Regions from separate parts of the Homo sapiens genome. Here all the other regions are linked to region 1. Evidence: promoter capture Hi-C in 16 types of primary human blood cells and fetal thymus (Javierre and others, 2016). All regions are on one chromosome and are shown on one strand. The core of a region is centred on a gene start or on the middle of the fragment in contact, and the rest is flanking DNA. Distances in the headings are between cores, read along the strand shown.

The links. The method cuts DNA at HindIII sites, captures the fragments that hold promoters and counts their contacts. A CHiCAGO score of 5 or more calls a contact.
Region 2: a fragment that was not itself captured here is called in contact with the fragment with the promoter of TBC1D8B in region 1 in 4 of 17 cell types (naive CD4 T cells, activated CD4 T cells, total CD8 T cells and 1 more); the score reaches 8.3 in naive CD4 T cells.
Region 3: a fragment that was not itself captured here is called in contact with the fragment with the promoter of TBC1D8B in region 1 in 5 of 17 cell types (total CD8 T cells, naive CD4 T cells, activated CD4 T cells and 2 more); the score reaches 8.4 in total CD8 T cells.
Region 4: a contact is called between a fragment that was not itself captured here and the fragment with the promoter of TBC1D8B in region 1, in 2 of 17 cell types (total CD8 T cells and naive CD4 T cells). The highest score is 5.9, in total CD8 T cells.

What each region holds. Positions count from the first base shown.
Region 1 is chrX:106,800,993-106,804,124 of GRCh38, forward strand. It overlaps TBC1D8B (TBC1 domain family member 8B), which reads left to right and starts at 1,681. Exons shown (of 21, transcript NM_017752.3): 1 at 1,681-1,991. The coding sequence starts at 1,862. The HindIII fragment of the contact is 5,023 bases long and covers 1-3,132 here.
Region 2 is chrX:106,413,435-106,416,566 of GRCh38, forward strand. No RefSeq gene overlaps it. Among named protein-coding and RNA genes, the nearest start is that of RADX, 200 kb to the right of the region's middle. The HindIII fragment of the contact is 890 bases long and covers 1,068-1,957 here.
Region 3 is chrX:106,461,617-106,464,748 of GRCh38, forward strand. No RefSeq gene overlaps it. Among named protein-coding and RNA genes, the nearest start is that of RADX, 150 kb to the right of the region's middle. The HindIII fragment of the contact is 4,432 bases long and covers 1-3,132 here.
Region 4 is chrX:106,498,502-106,501,633 of GRCh38, forward strand. No RefSeq gene overlaps it. Among named protein-coding and RNA genes, the nearest start is that of RADX, 110 kb to the right of the region's middle. The HindIII fragment of the contact is 1,247 bases long and covers 877-2,123 here.

The DNA of each region.
Region 1 (3,132 bases), core at 431-2,930:
GATCACATAAGTAATTTAATTAGAAAAAAATGTTTACATAATTGGTGAAATGTTTATTTACTAAAGCAGGAGCTCTCTAAACGCCCTGCTGTAAGCCAAAAGTGGCCCTGATCCTGTAACAGGGAGCATGTGGGTATACCTGGAAGAAATTGCAGAGTAAACAGGTAGAAAAGCCATCCAGTTCTGGATAGCTTTTGCCACACTGTAACCTTTAAGGGTATTGGAAAAGGATGTGGTTTGATGGGGAAGGAAGTAAAAAGGGGAAGGAAAGGTAAAAAGAAAGGAAGATATCTCTCAACGTTTGCTACATTTACTGATCTTTCTCCAGGAAGAGAAGAAGAAATTACCTCCCTTAGTACACATTCAAATTGCGATGGCTTTTCCCAAAGATACATTGCAGTCTGGACTCTGAAAGGATTATCTCTTTCCAAACTGTCCAGATAGCTGCCTTGGGACTACTTACTGCCATTTAGTAGAAGAGAATCCCAGATTGCCCCTTTTCTCATTCACAAGAAAAATCCCTGCTTGGAGCACACGCCTGCCTCACTCGAGATGGCACACATCTTGGAAGGTTACCCCAGAGATGCTCCTCCAGGGCAGAGTTCCTTGGCTTGGCATCTGCGTGTGCCCCACCCCATTTTTTTTTAATCCACATGACTTTGAGGCTCTATTCTCAAAACAGCTTGCCAAGAGCCCTTTGCTTATACATGGCCTCCCAACTCCTTCCTCCCTCTAAACTTTTTTTCACTTTTAATGCACTCTTTAATTCCGGTGGACTTAGTTATTGCAATAAATAAAAACATCTGTCAAATATTTCCTCACAGCGATATCATGCAAATTATTGACCTCATTCACCTTAGTGTTCAAACCGCTGCGCATCATTGCCAAGATACAAAGAGATCAAGTTTGCTTCCAAAGGGATTTTTTTAAGAGTTTAAGAAAAAAAAAAATGCACATAAATTGTTTAGATTCCAAAATAGGAAGCTGGACAAGAGATTTTCTGTGGTTCATTACAGCAGTTTAATAAACAGATAGGGGCGACAGTGAAGGAAAGGAGCGGTGCACGGAGTGAAGAAAACGCGTGGCTTCTGGAAATTTTATATTCTTCCTATATAACCAAAAAGAGCTTAATCTAGGCATGAATTTTGGATTTAGAGAAGGAATCGTATCACTGACTGTGTGACCTTGGATAAGTCGCCTCACCCGACAGTGCTTTCCTTTATTAATGTGCAAAGCGGGGACGAATGTCCACTTCGCAAGACTGCTGTGAGGATTACGTGAGATCGCCTGAGTCTATAGTGAGAGCTCATTAAATGTTAGTTGTTGCTACTGCTACTTCCTGGAATGAACCGATATTCCAAAATTCCAGAAACTTTGTTTTCTACAGTTTAATGCCTTCGGCTGTAAAATGATAAAAAGAAGCAACACCTTTACACCTGGGACTCACTTATTTGAACCAAAAAAATGCTTTAAACTTCAGATAGGCAAAACACACTTAACTGATGGCTGGGACCCGCTTTGAAAGCACCCCCACCCATTCTCACCCCAGTGTATTGTGGGAAGGGTAGTCCCATGTTCCAGTCGCTTGAGCACAGAAAAGCGCGTAGGAAACTACAACTCCCAAGAGGTAAAGAAGCGGGACTATTTCCCAGTCTGGCGGTAGCGCTGTGGGAGGGAATTGGCAATCTCTCTGCCTACGTGGGAGAGAAGGGAGGGTTGGGGGAAGTGTGGAAAACCTGAACCTGAGCTGCTGTCGCCTGAGGAAGATTTGGTGGGAGGAGAAGCAGAGGGGAAGAGACGGGTTGAGAGTGAGGTGAGGAGGGCATCTAGGTCACTGCTCCCGGGGGGCACAAAGTTCGCGATGTGGCTGAAGCCTGAGGAAGTGCTTCTGAAAAATGCGCTGAAGCTGTGGCTGATGGAAAGGTCCAACGACTACTTCGTGCTGCAGCGGCGTCGGGGCTACGGGGAGGAAGGCGGAGGGGGGCTCACAGGTAAGCTGTGGCCACCCTACCTGCCTCTGGGCTGTGTTCGCTGTTACTTAAAAGGTGGTGAGGACAACAGTTACTCGTCGCTACCAGTTTCCCGATCCTAAATCGTGGGCGGAGGGACTGGGGTTCTTCTCCCGACACCACCTTTCCGCCACCACCTCCAAGTCCTGAGAATGTCTCACTGGACGACGAGTTGCTCTTTGGTTGGGACAGGTGAAGGGAGGAGCGCGGTTCTTTCTGAGGCCAAGGAAGAAACGGGTACCTACCTTGTCGCTTCCCATGGGGGGAGGGAGGCTGATGATGAGTGTTAGACCTAGACAGGTCGCATTTAGGCTGGTGACAGGGGCCAGTTCGCAGTTGTGAACTTAACTTTTTTCACAGAACCCATACCGATCATCAGCACCCTGGGGAGATTAAGCGTATGGGGGATGGGATGGAGTGGGTACGCGGGGATGGTGAGGAGAAAGGGAGGCGCCCAATCACATCCTGAGAAATAGACTTCAAAAGAAATATTAGGGAGGAGGGAGAACTGGAGTCAGGAGAGGTGGAGGGGTAGGCTCAGAATTGCTGATCTCTCCCAATTTAGCATCTTTTACTTTGTCTCCAAGTTTTCAATCTTTGGGATCCCCTCTCAAAGGCTATTAACAACGTCGTAATAAATTAATCTCTTGAGTGACTGGTGCTGCCCCTTCATTCAAAGCTGTGATTGTAAGCCAGACGGTAAGAGTTTAACTCTTCCTGTCTAACCCACCCTGACCCCAATTCTTAAAAAGTGTTTTTTGGCCAAATGTTTAAAGTTTCCAGAGAAAGTTATTTTGAGACCACTCATCTTGGGTAGGGATATTTAAAGTTTTGGACGTTGGGAAAGCAAGAGCTCTTTTTCTAATCAATCTCTAATTTGGTATTGTGACCTTGAAGTGGTAGACCAGGCAGCGTGATGTAATGGAAAGAGGGAAGAGTCCCGAAAACCTGCATTTTAGTCCCATCCTACTCTCTTACTTGTTGGATGACATTCCTCAAACTCTTTCATTTACTCAACCTTAAGCACCTACTGTGTGCCACAAGGTTCACAAGATTCAGTTTCTTGGCTTTGCAGTGCTTATAATCTGGATAAGAAGGGTGGGAAGGTCTAAAGGAAAAAGAA
Region 2 (3,132 bases), core at 263-2,762, 390 kb before region 1:
ACATACATATAAGTCCCAGAAAGTAAAGACTCTTTTCTGAGGAAATGAGGAAGATGATAGTCAAACATTTTCCAGAACAGATGAAAAGCATTAACTAATCTACAGATTCTGCAAACCCAGTGAATCCTAGACAGGATAAATAAAAAGAAATCTGTACCTACATACATCATAGTGAAAATGCAGAATATCAGAGAGGAAGAAGGCTATTATAATGATCAAAATTAGAGGTAATGGAGTCTTAACCCTGGGCAGGAACAAAATAAATTGAGACAAGGGGATGGGCCTTTAGACTCTAGCCTTTAGAATGCCTTTTGCTCAAACTTTCCATGAAAGACTATTTTATAAAGATGTTACCCATTTCATTCCTAATAAATAAAAATACATTTGTTAACAAATGAATTTATTGGAGCAACCTGATACCTGGAAGCCATTTCCAATTGTCTTTGTCATACATGGAAGGCTATGGTTTTATATGTCCCTTATCCCATGGGACCTGAAAGAAATATTTTCCACAGGAATAAAATGCTAGTGGCAGCTGAACTTTAAGGCTAGAGAAATGTGCTTTCACGTGACTTTCTAACAGAAAGGAGAATAAAAGTGAATTTATTTGTTTGTTTTTGAGACAGGGTCTCATTCTGTTGCCCTGACTAGAGTGCAGTGGTGGGATCTCGGATCACTGCAACCTCAGCTTCCCAGGCTCAAAGCAATCCTCCCACCTCAGCCTCTGGAGTAACTGAGACTACAGGTGCATGCTACTATACCCAGCTATTAAAAAAAAAATTGTAGAGACGGAGTTTCACCACGTTGCCCAGGCTGGTCTTGAACTCCTGAGCCCAAGGAATCCTCCCGCCTCGACCTCCCACCGCGCTGGGATTACAGGTGTGAGCCACCGGGCCTGGCCAAAAGTGAATCTTTATAGGAATTCTTCCTTCTGCTTACCTGCTTACTGTGCAACTTTCACTCTGCTTCTAAGGAAAAGTATGTAAAATGAACAATTTCATAGTTTCCAGGGAGTCTTATTACAACCTTCAAGGTGGACCATATGTACTCACTTATTGGGCTATCTAAGCTTGGCTGGCATAGAATTCCTGCAGGGGGGTTCATGTTTGTAATAGATCTAAAAATGCAATGGCCTGTCTTTGGAAGGAGTCAGATTTTTACTTGTTAATAGAGCTGTTCATACAGAGATTGAATGGTCACTTGTTAGGGATATGATAAAGAAAACTGTGCTCCATATGGGATGTTATTTCAGAGATTCTGTGGTCCCCTGAATGTCTAAAAATTTCTGACAATTTAAGCCAAAAGCAGCTGTCTGTGAATCCTTCTAAGAAGAATTTAAACTGTTTTTGCTCAAAATATGTCCAGCATTTATTCTATTTGAGAGACAAATATCTTATATAGCCATAAAGACCCCCATCACCATCACAGAAAACTGTTTCTTCAAGAAAAGATATTGGGAGGGCAGGAAAGCCTTCTCTGTTGCCTAGTGCCAACCCAACCAGAAAGAAGTTCAACAGTGAAGGCATTAACCTGCTTTCATCTGTGGTATGCAATATGTCACCAACAATTTTGATCAAGTGTCACAAAGGGAGGGATAGCTGGGTTTTAATTCTGATTTTGCAGCGTTTCTCTTTACTTTTGCCAGGCATTCACAATTTGTGTAGGCCACAGCTCTCTCCCAAAGCCTGTGAAAGCCTACATTTTAGTATCTGTAGCATCTTTTAGAATTATGTTCCTCCGTTACTACGGAAGAGCAGGATCAGGGAAAATGTTCCATTACTCTAAGATTTATCCCAGGGACTTGCTGTAGCATAATATACTAAAAAGGGCATTTGACTACAAATATGAAGATCAGAGATAGCTTCTGAATCTGTTTTCTTATCTGAAATATGGAGGTGATAATAATGCCTGTTTGTTAACAGAGCAGCCCTAACAGTAGGGAATCCCTATCTGTCAAAGCTTCTGAGCTCTGTGATTTCACTTCCCTCATCCTGGTCAGGTTTCTCATAATCTCCATCTGGAAGAGTTGCTGTCACTATCACTTATAGCCACCAGGGGTCCTCAGCAATCCTGATCTAATCGTGAAATGAGCCTTTTTATTTATCTAATTGTTTTCCTGAATCTGGGTAAGCCAGGCTGATATTTTCAAAAGGAACCTTCTTCAGAAGCTCAGGGATAAGCACAAGGAACAGAGACCATTGTGAGCAAGGAGATTTTAGTGCACAAATAGATGGCTTTGTGCTTCTACATTTGGGTCTTAGCTGCCACCAGCTACTCTGCCCTTCAGTGGGGCTGTTGATGGCTGCCCTCTGGGCACCCCTGCCCCTGCTCCTGCACCCAGAGGATGAGAAACAAGAGTCCTATACAAAAGGTGAATAGTAGCCCCTGCAGTTTTGTAGGGTGCAGTCTGTGTGGCCATATGTGTTGCCTTTGGTGAGAAGATCTCCTTTCTAACGTGACTCTCTTCTGAGTGTCAGAGACCTGCATTAGTCTTGCACCGGCCCTCAATTGTTATAGGATCCATGTCAGGCCCCTCAGTTCCTAATTATTATACCCTTGCATTCTTAGCCAAGTTCTCTCTGCTCATGTTAAATTTTGACCAAAGGCTTTCCTCTTATATAGACTTATTGTATCAATATAGTGTACATTTGTGGTAATAGAAATAATTCATAACAAGGCACTTAATCCTGTCAGTAACTCTAGTCTCTACTTCTCAACACTGCTCCAAAACATCCCTTTACTCCATTATCTCTCACTGTGAGTAGTGCTCATAATGTATTCCAGATGCACCTCATATTCCACAGTCCCCTTTCAATTAATTGGGATCATGTGACTAGTTATAGACAATGAAATGCAAACATAAGTGACCTATACCATTTCCAGGATGAGATATTTGAGACCCAGTGCATGATCATAAGATCTCTCTTTTTTGCTCTTGTAACTCTTTGCCAGATGTTGAGATGATAACATCAAAGATGGAGGGAACCTAGATCCCTGAGCCGTCAGATGAAAAAGAGAGCTGCAGACAGGCATTTGAACTCATGTGAGCTGGAAATCAAGCTTTGTATATGTATGTTAAGCTGTTTAGATATGAAGATTTATTTATTATTTTATCAAAGCCTACCCTGTCTT
Region 3 (3,132 bases), core at 179-2,678, 340 kb before region 1:
GGTATCCTGTCCATAGCCATGTGATTAGAAGCAAACCTTCTGGATATAGTCAAACCTTCAAATGACTTTAGTCACAACTGACTTCTGAACTGTAACCTCATGAGATACTCAAAGATGATATTATCCATCTAAACCACTCTTTTTTATTTATTATTTTATTTATCTATTTTTTAAGTTGATAAAAGGGGTTTAATTGGCTCACGGTTCCAAAGTCATACATGAAGCATGGCTAGGGAGGCCTGAGGAAACTTACAATCATGGCAGAAGGAGAAGGGGAAGCAGGCATGCTCTACATGGCTGGAGCAGGAGGAAAAACTAAACCACTCTTTAATAACTGACCTACAGAAACTGTGAGACATTAATTATTTGTAGTTTTAAGCCACTCCATTTCAGGGCTTATTTGTTATGTGGCAAAAAATAATAATAATAATAATTAAAACAGATGTTTGGTGCCAAGAGTAGGGTGCTGCAGTAACAAAACCTAACATGCGAAATGACTTTAAAACCAGCAGAGGGCTGAAGCTGGAAGGAGTTTGGAGAGAGTATTAATGAAAGTCTAAGATTCTTGGAACACACCATTATCAGAAACCTAACCATCTTTATGAAGGTTGCCTGTGAGAGCTTAAGGGAAAGTAAAGAAAACTTTATTGGAAACTGGAGGAAAGGGATCCCTTGTAATTTAGTGCAATGATGTGGAGAGTAGAAAACATGTTCACAATTTGGATTGTGAATATACCAAAGGGTATTTCCAAAAAGAATGTTGACGGTGCTGCCTGGATTTTTTTTGGGGAAAGGGGGTGCTGTTTATAGCAAAATGTGAGAAGAGAATGTTAAGGGACAGACTTGAGCTTAAACAAAATGGAGACATAATTTGCTGCTTTCAAAACCCCCAGTGTCTCCAGATGGAAAATAATGCTAAAGTTAAGAAAGGGCATCTAAGCAAAGATCAAATCCAGAACCCTTCCAGGAAAATATGATATAAAGATGAAGCCAGTGATGCAATTATAAAATCCATTATTAAGGCCTAAAAAGAAGTGGAGAAGTACCTCAGAAAAACAATATTCCATCTAAGAGGATTATGGGTGTTGTCCCTAAGCAGTCTTAGCAGAAGTCCAAAGCCAAATGAGCTTATCTAAGAGAGTTGTGTATATACCTTTTGTCTAATGGAGTAAATTCCCATGTCTTAGTCCATTTTGCACTGTCATAACAGAATAACTGAAACTGGGTAATTTATAAAAAACAGAAATGTATTTTTTCACAGTTCTGGAGGCTGCAAAGTTCAAGACCAAGATGCCAGCACCTAGTGAGGGCTTTCTTGCTATGTCTTCACATGGCAGAAGACAGAAGGGCAAGAGAAAACCAACTCTGTCCATTAAGCCCCTTATAAGGGCACCTACTCCCATTCATGAAGGAGGAGCCCTCATGGTCTAATCACATTATAAAGGCTCCACCTTTTAATACCATTACATTGGCAACACCTGGTTTTGGAGGGGACATATTCAAACCATAGCACCCAATAAAATTTTTCGAACATCATGTCTTTTGTAGATAGATAGAGAGATAGAAAGACAGTTCACCAACATGCCATGGACCAATCAGAGCCAATTTAAGGCCCTTCAAATGACACGGCATAGATAATTCTGACTTGGACTGCCCATTCATTTTAAAAAATGGTGACAAAAGGCCTTGTGCCTTTTTTGGTTATAGCCATAGGAAACATTGTGTGTTACTACGTGATAATACATTGTTAAATGTCAACAGTAGTGACACAAATGGATTGTGGATGCATTATGTTAACTTTGTTTTAACAGACTCTCTTCAGACACCTACTAAAAAGAAAACACAGTGCTATGTGTTTCAGGAGAAATAGATAAATAAAATCCTTTAAAGTCCCAAACATTCAGATGTCCACCCTCTAAGGGGTGGAGGAGAATAGATACACATATATAAGCAATGTTAATATACACTAGGATATGAGATGTGCTGCCATAGTATATAAAGATACTGATGCCAATTAGCAAGCATCCAGGCAGTCTTAACTAAATGTAGAAACAAGGCCTTCTACCCTAAAACCCCTGGCCCTCCCCTTCTCTGATCCTCTACTCTGGCCAACTCAAACTTCATTTTTTTCCTTAAACAGGTTCCAGATAATAGGCCCATTTCCTCTTTTAAGTGTTCTTTTATGTTAAGAAATATTTCAGACTTACACAAAGGTATAGGAATACTACATCTGTGAACCCACCTCCCAACTTTAGAAGCATATTACAAATAGAGGTGAAGTCCACTGTGTACCTCTCCCCAATTAAATTCTCTCTCTTTCTCCACAAGATCTAATCACCCTCTTAAGGTGCTTATCATTCTCATATATACCTATCTGCATGTTACATGTGTATGCATCACTGACATGTATGCCTTTTACTATAAATGTATGTAACCACAGTCATTACAGTGATTGTTTTACATGTTTTTAGACTTCATATGCATGGTATAATACTTATATCCTTCTGGAATTGTTTTTTTTCCCTTACCCACTTTTCACTGCCACCACCAAATCTTTGCTTCTTGTTTTTAGTTGAATTGGGTCCTTCAAAAAGATATGTTGAAGTCCTAATCCCAAGAACCTGTGAATGTGACCTTATTTGAAAATATCTTATTTGCAGATGTAATCAATTTAAGATGAGGTCATACTGGATTAGGTGGGCCATTAATCCATTACTGATGTCCTTATAAAGAAGATACACAAAGACAGAGACACAGGGGAAAACACTGTGTCTGTGAAGACAGAAGAAGAGGTTAAAGTGATGAATTTGCAAGCCAAAAGATACTACAACTTGATGGCAAAAGCTAGGAGAGAGGCATGGAATAGATTCTCCATCAGAGCCTCCAGAAGGAACTAACCCTGCCATCACCTTGATTTCAAACTTCTAAACTACAGAACTGAGGCAATAAATTCCTGTTGTTTTAAGCCACTCTGTTTGTGGCAATTCATTATGGCAGCCCTAGGAAATAAACACATCCCTCCAGGCACTCTTTGTGTCTCAGGCCCCTGAGAATTTTAGTCTCTTTCCCAGTCCATACTTTACTGTGCTGTTCAGTTTACCTGCAACCATACCAAGTTAGAGAATTAGGGCT
Region 4 (3,132 bases), core at 250-2,749, 300 kb before region 1:
AGTTCTAAATCTATTGTTTTACATGCAGATACCCAGTTGTGCCAACACTACTTGTTGAAAAGACCACCCTTTTCTCCCATTGAATTGTCCTGGCACTCCTATTAACAATTCAGTGACTACAAATGTAAGGGTTGAGAACATTTTCTTTTATTCCTAGTTTCTTGAGGGCTTTTATCAAAAAAGGCTGTTGGAGTTTTCAAATGCTTTTTCTTGGTCTATTGAGTTCATGTGCATTTTTTGTATTTTATTCTATTTACATGGTGTATTACATTACAGTCATGTGCTGCGTAACAATGTTTTGTTCAATGTCAGACTACAGATATTACAATGTTTCCATAAGATTATAATGGAGCTAAAATATTTCCTATTACCTAGTATGTCATACCCGTCAAACTAGGATGTCATACCCATCATAACTTTGTAGAAAAATGCATTGTTCATGTGTTTGTGTTGATGCTGGTGCAAATAAACCTACTGTACTGCTAGTCAGTATAAAAGTATAGCACATACAATTAGGTACAGTACTTAGTACTTGATAATTACAATAAATATATGTCATTGGTTTACATATTTACTGTACTATACTTTTTATTGTTTAGAGTATACTCCTTCTACTTAAAAAAATAGGTAACTGTAAAACAGCCTCAGACAGGTCCTTCAGGAGGTATTCCAGAAGAAAGTATCATTATCATAAGACATGACAGATCCATGTGTATTGCTCCTGAAGACTTTCCAGTGGTACAAGATGTACAGGTAAAAGACGATCATATTGATGAGTCTGACCCTGTGTAGGCCTAGGCTAATGTGTGTGTTTACGTCTTAGTTTCTAAAAGAAAAGTTTAAAAACTTTTTAAAAAATCTTAAACATAGAAAAAAAGCTTATAGAATAAGGCTATAAAGAAAGAAAATATTTTTGTACAACTGTAAAATATGTCTGTGTTTTAAGCTAAGTGTCATTACAAAAGAGTCAAAATTTTTAAAAATTGAAAGCTCATAAAGTAAAAAATGTTATGATAAGCTAAGGTTAAATTATCATTGAAGAAAGACAAATATTTTTAAATATACTTAGTGTAGCCTAAGTATACAGTGTTTATAAAGTTTACAATAATGTACAGTAATGACCTAGGACTTCACATTCATTCACCACTCACTTACTGACTCACCCAGAGCAACTTCTAGTCCTGCAAGCTCCATTCATGGCAAGTTCCTTATATAGGTGTACCATTTTTTATCTTTAAGATAATATTTTTACTGTATCTTTTCTAGGTTTAGACATGTTTAAATACACAAATACTTACCATTGTGTTTTAATTGCCTACAGCATTCAGTACAGTAACATGCTATACTGGTTTGTAGCCTAGGAACAATAGGCTATACCATATAGCCTAGGTGTGTAGTAGGCTATACCATTTAGGTTTGTGTAAGTACAGTGTAGGATGTTGGCACAACAAAATCGCCTAATGATGTGTTTCTCAGAACATATCCCTGCTGTTAAGTGATGTGTGACTGTAATTGATATTCATGTGTTAAACAAACCTTGCATTCCTGGGATAAATCTAATTTAGTCATGATATGAAATCCTTTTCATGTGTTGGGTTAGGTTTGCTAGCATTTTGTTAAGCATTTCTTTCATCTGTCTTCTTAAGAGACATTAATCTGTACTTTTCCTTATGTGTGATATCTTTGTCTGGTTTTGGTATTAGGATAATCCTGGCCTCACAGAATGACTTGGGAAATATTCCTTCCTCTTGTATTTTTTGAGAGATTTTGTGAAGAATTTGTATTATTTTGTTTTTTAAATATTGGACAGAGTTCACAGGAAGCCATCAAGGGCTGGGTTATTTTTAAAGGGATTTAAAAATTACTAATTCAGTCACTTTAATTATTACAAGTATTCTCAGATTTTCTATTTATTATTGAGTAGTTTTTAGTATTTTGTGTCTTTCTAGGAAATTTCTCATTTGCTCTAGGATAACCAATTTATTGACATAAATTGTTTATAGAATTTCTTTGTAATTATTTTTATTTCTGTAGGGTTTTTTTTTATTAGTAGTGCCCCCTTTCTTATTCATGATTTTAGTGGTTTGAATTTAATATCTCTTTTTCTTGGTCAGTATACCTAAAGCTTTGTCAATTTTGTTGATCTTTTCAAAGAACTAAATTTTGATTCATTGATTATCTCTTTTTCTTCTATTCTCTATTTGTTTATGCCCATTCGAATCTTTATTTCCTTTCTGCTTGCTTTATGTTTAGTTTGTTCTTGTTTTCCCACTGAATTTCACAAATTCAATTATAACTGTTATAACAATGACAAGAGAAAACGTAAATACTAAGAAGACAAACAAGCTAATTTTTGAAATGGGCTAAATATTTGAATTGGCGTTTATCCAAAGAAGATATATGAATGGCTGATAAGCACAGGATATAACTTCTAACATCATTAGTCATTAGGTATATGACAACCCAAACCGCAATGAGATAGTAATTTACAACCACTAGATTGGGTATAATAAAAAAATAGCCAATAACAAGTGTTGGTGAGGATGTGAAGAAAATGAAAGTTTCATACATCACAGATAAGACTGTAAAATTATGCAGAAATATTGGAAATTCTTTGGCAGTTTCTCAAATAGTTAAACATTGAGTTATCCTATGACTCAGAAATTCAACTTTTAGTTACATATCTCAGAGAAATAAGAACATATGTCCACATAAAAACCTGTACAGGAATGAAAATAGCAGCATTATTTATAATAGTCCAATATTGGAAACCTCTCAAAGGTTCACCAACTGATGAATGGCTAAATGAAATGTGGTCAATTCATATGATGGAATATTATTCAGCAATGAAAAAGAGTAAAGTACTGATGTATGATAAAACATGGATGAACCTTGTAAACAATATACTAAGTGAGAGAATCCAATTACAAAATACCAAATATTGTATAATTCAGTTTATATGAAATGTCCAGTATTCTGGGTAAACTCATACAGTGTTGTAATTACTGTGGGGCTAGGAATGGGAGAGGGAAGGGACTTCAAATGTATTACAAGGCTTTGTTTTGGAGTGATAAAATATTTTTGACATTAGATAGTGGTCATGTTTGCACAACTATGTGAATATAGTAAAAA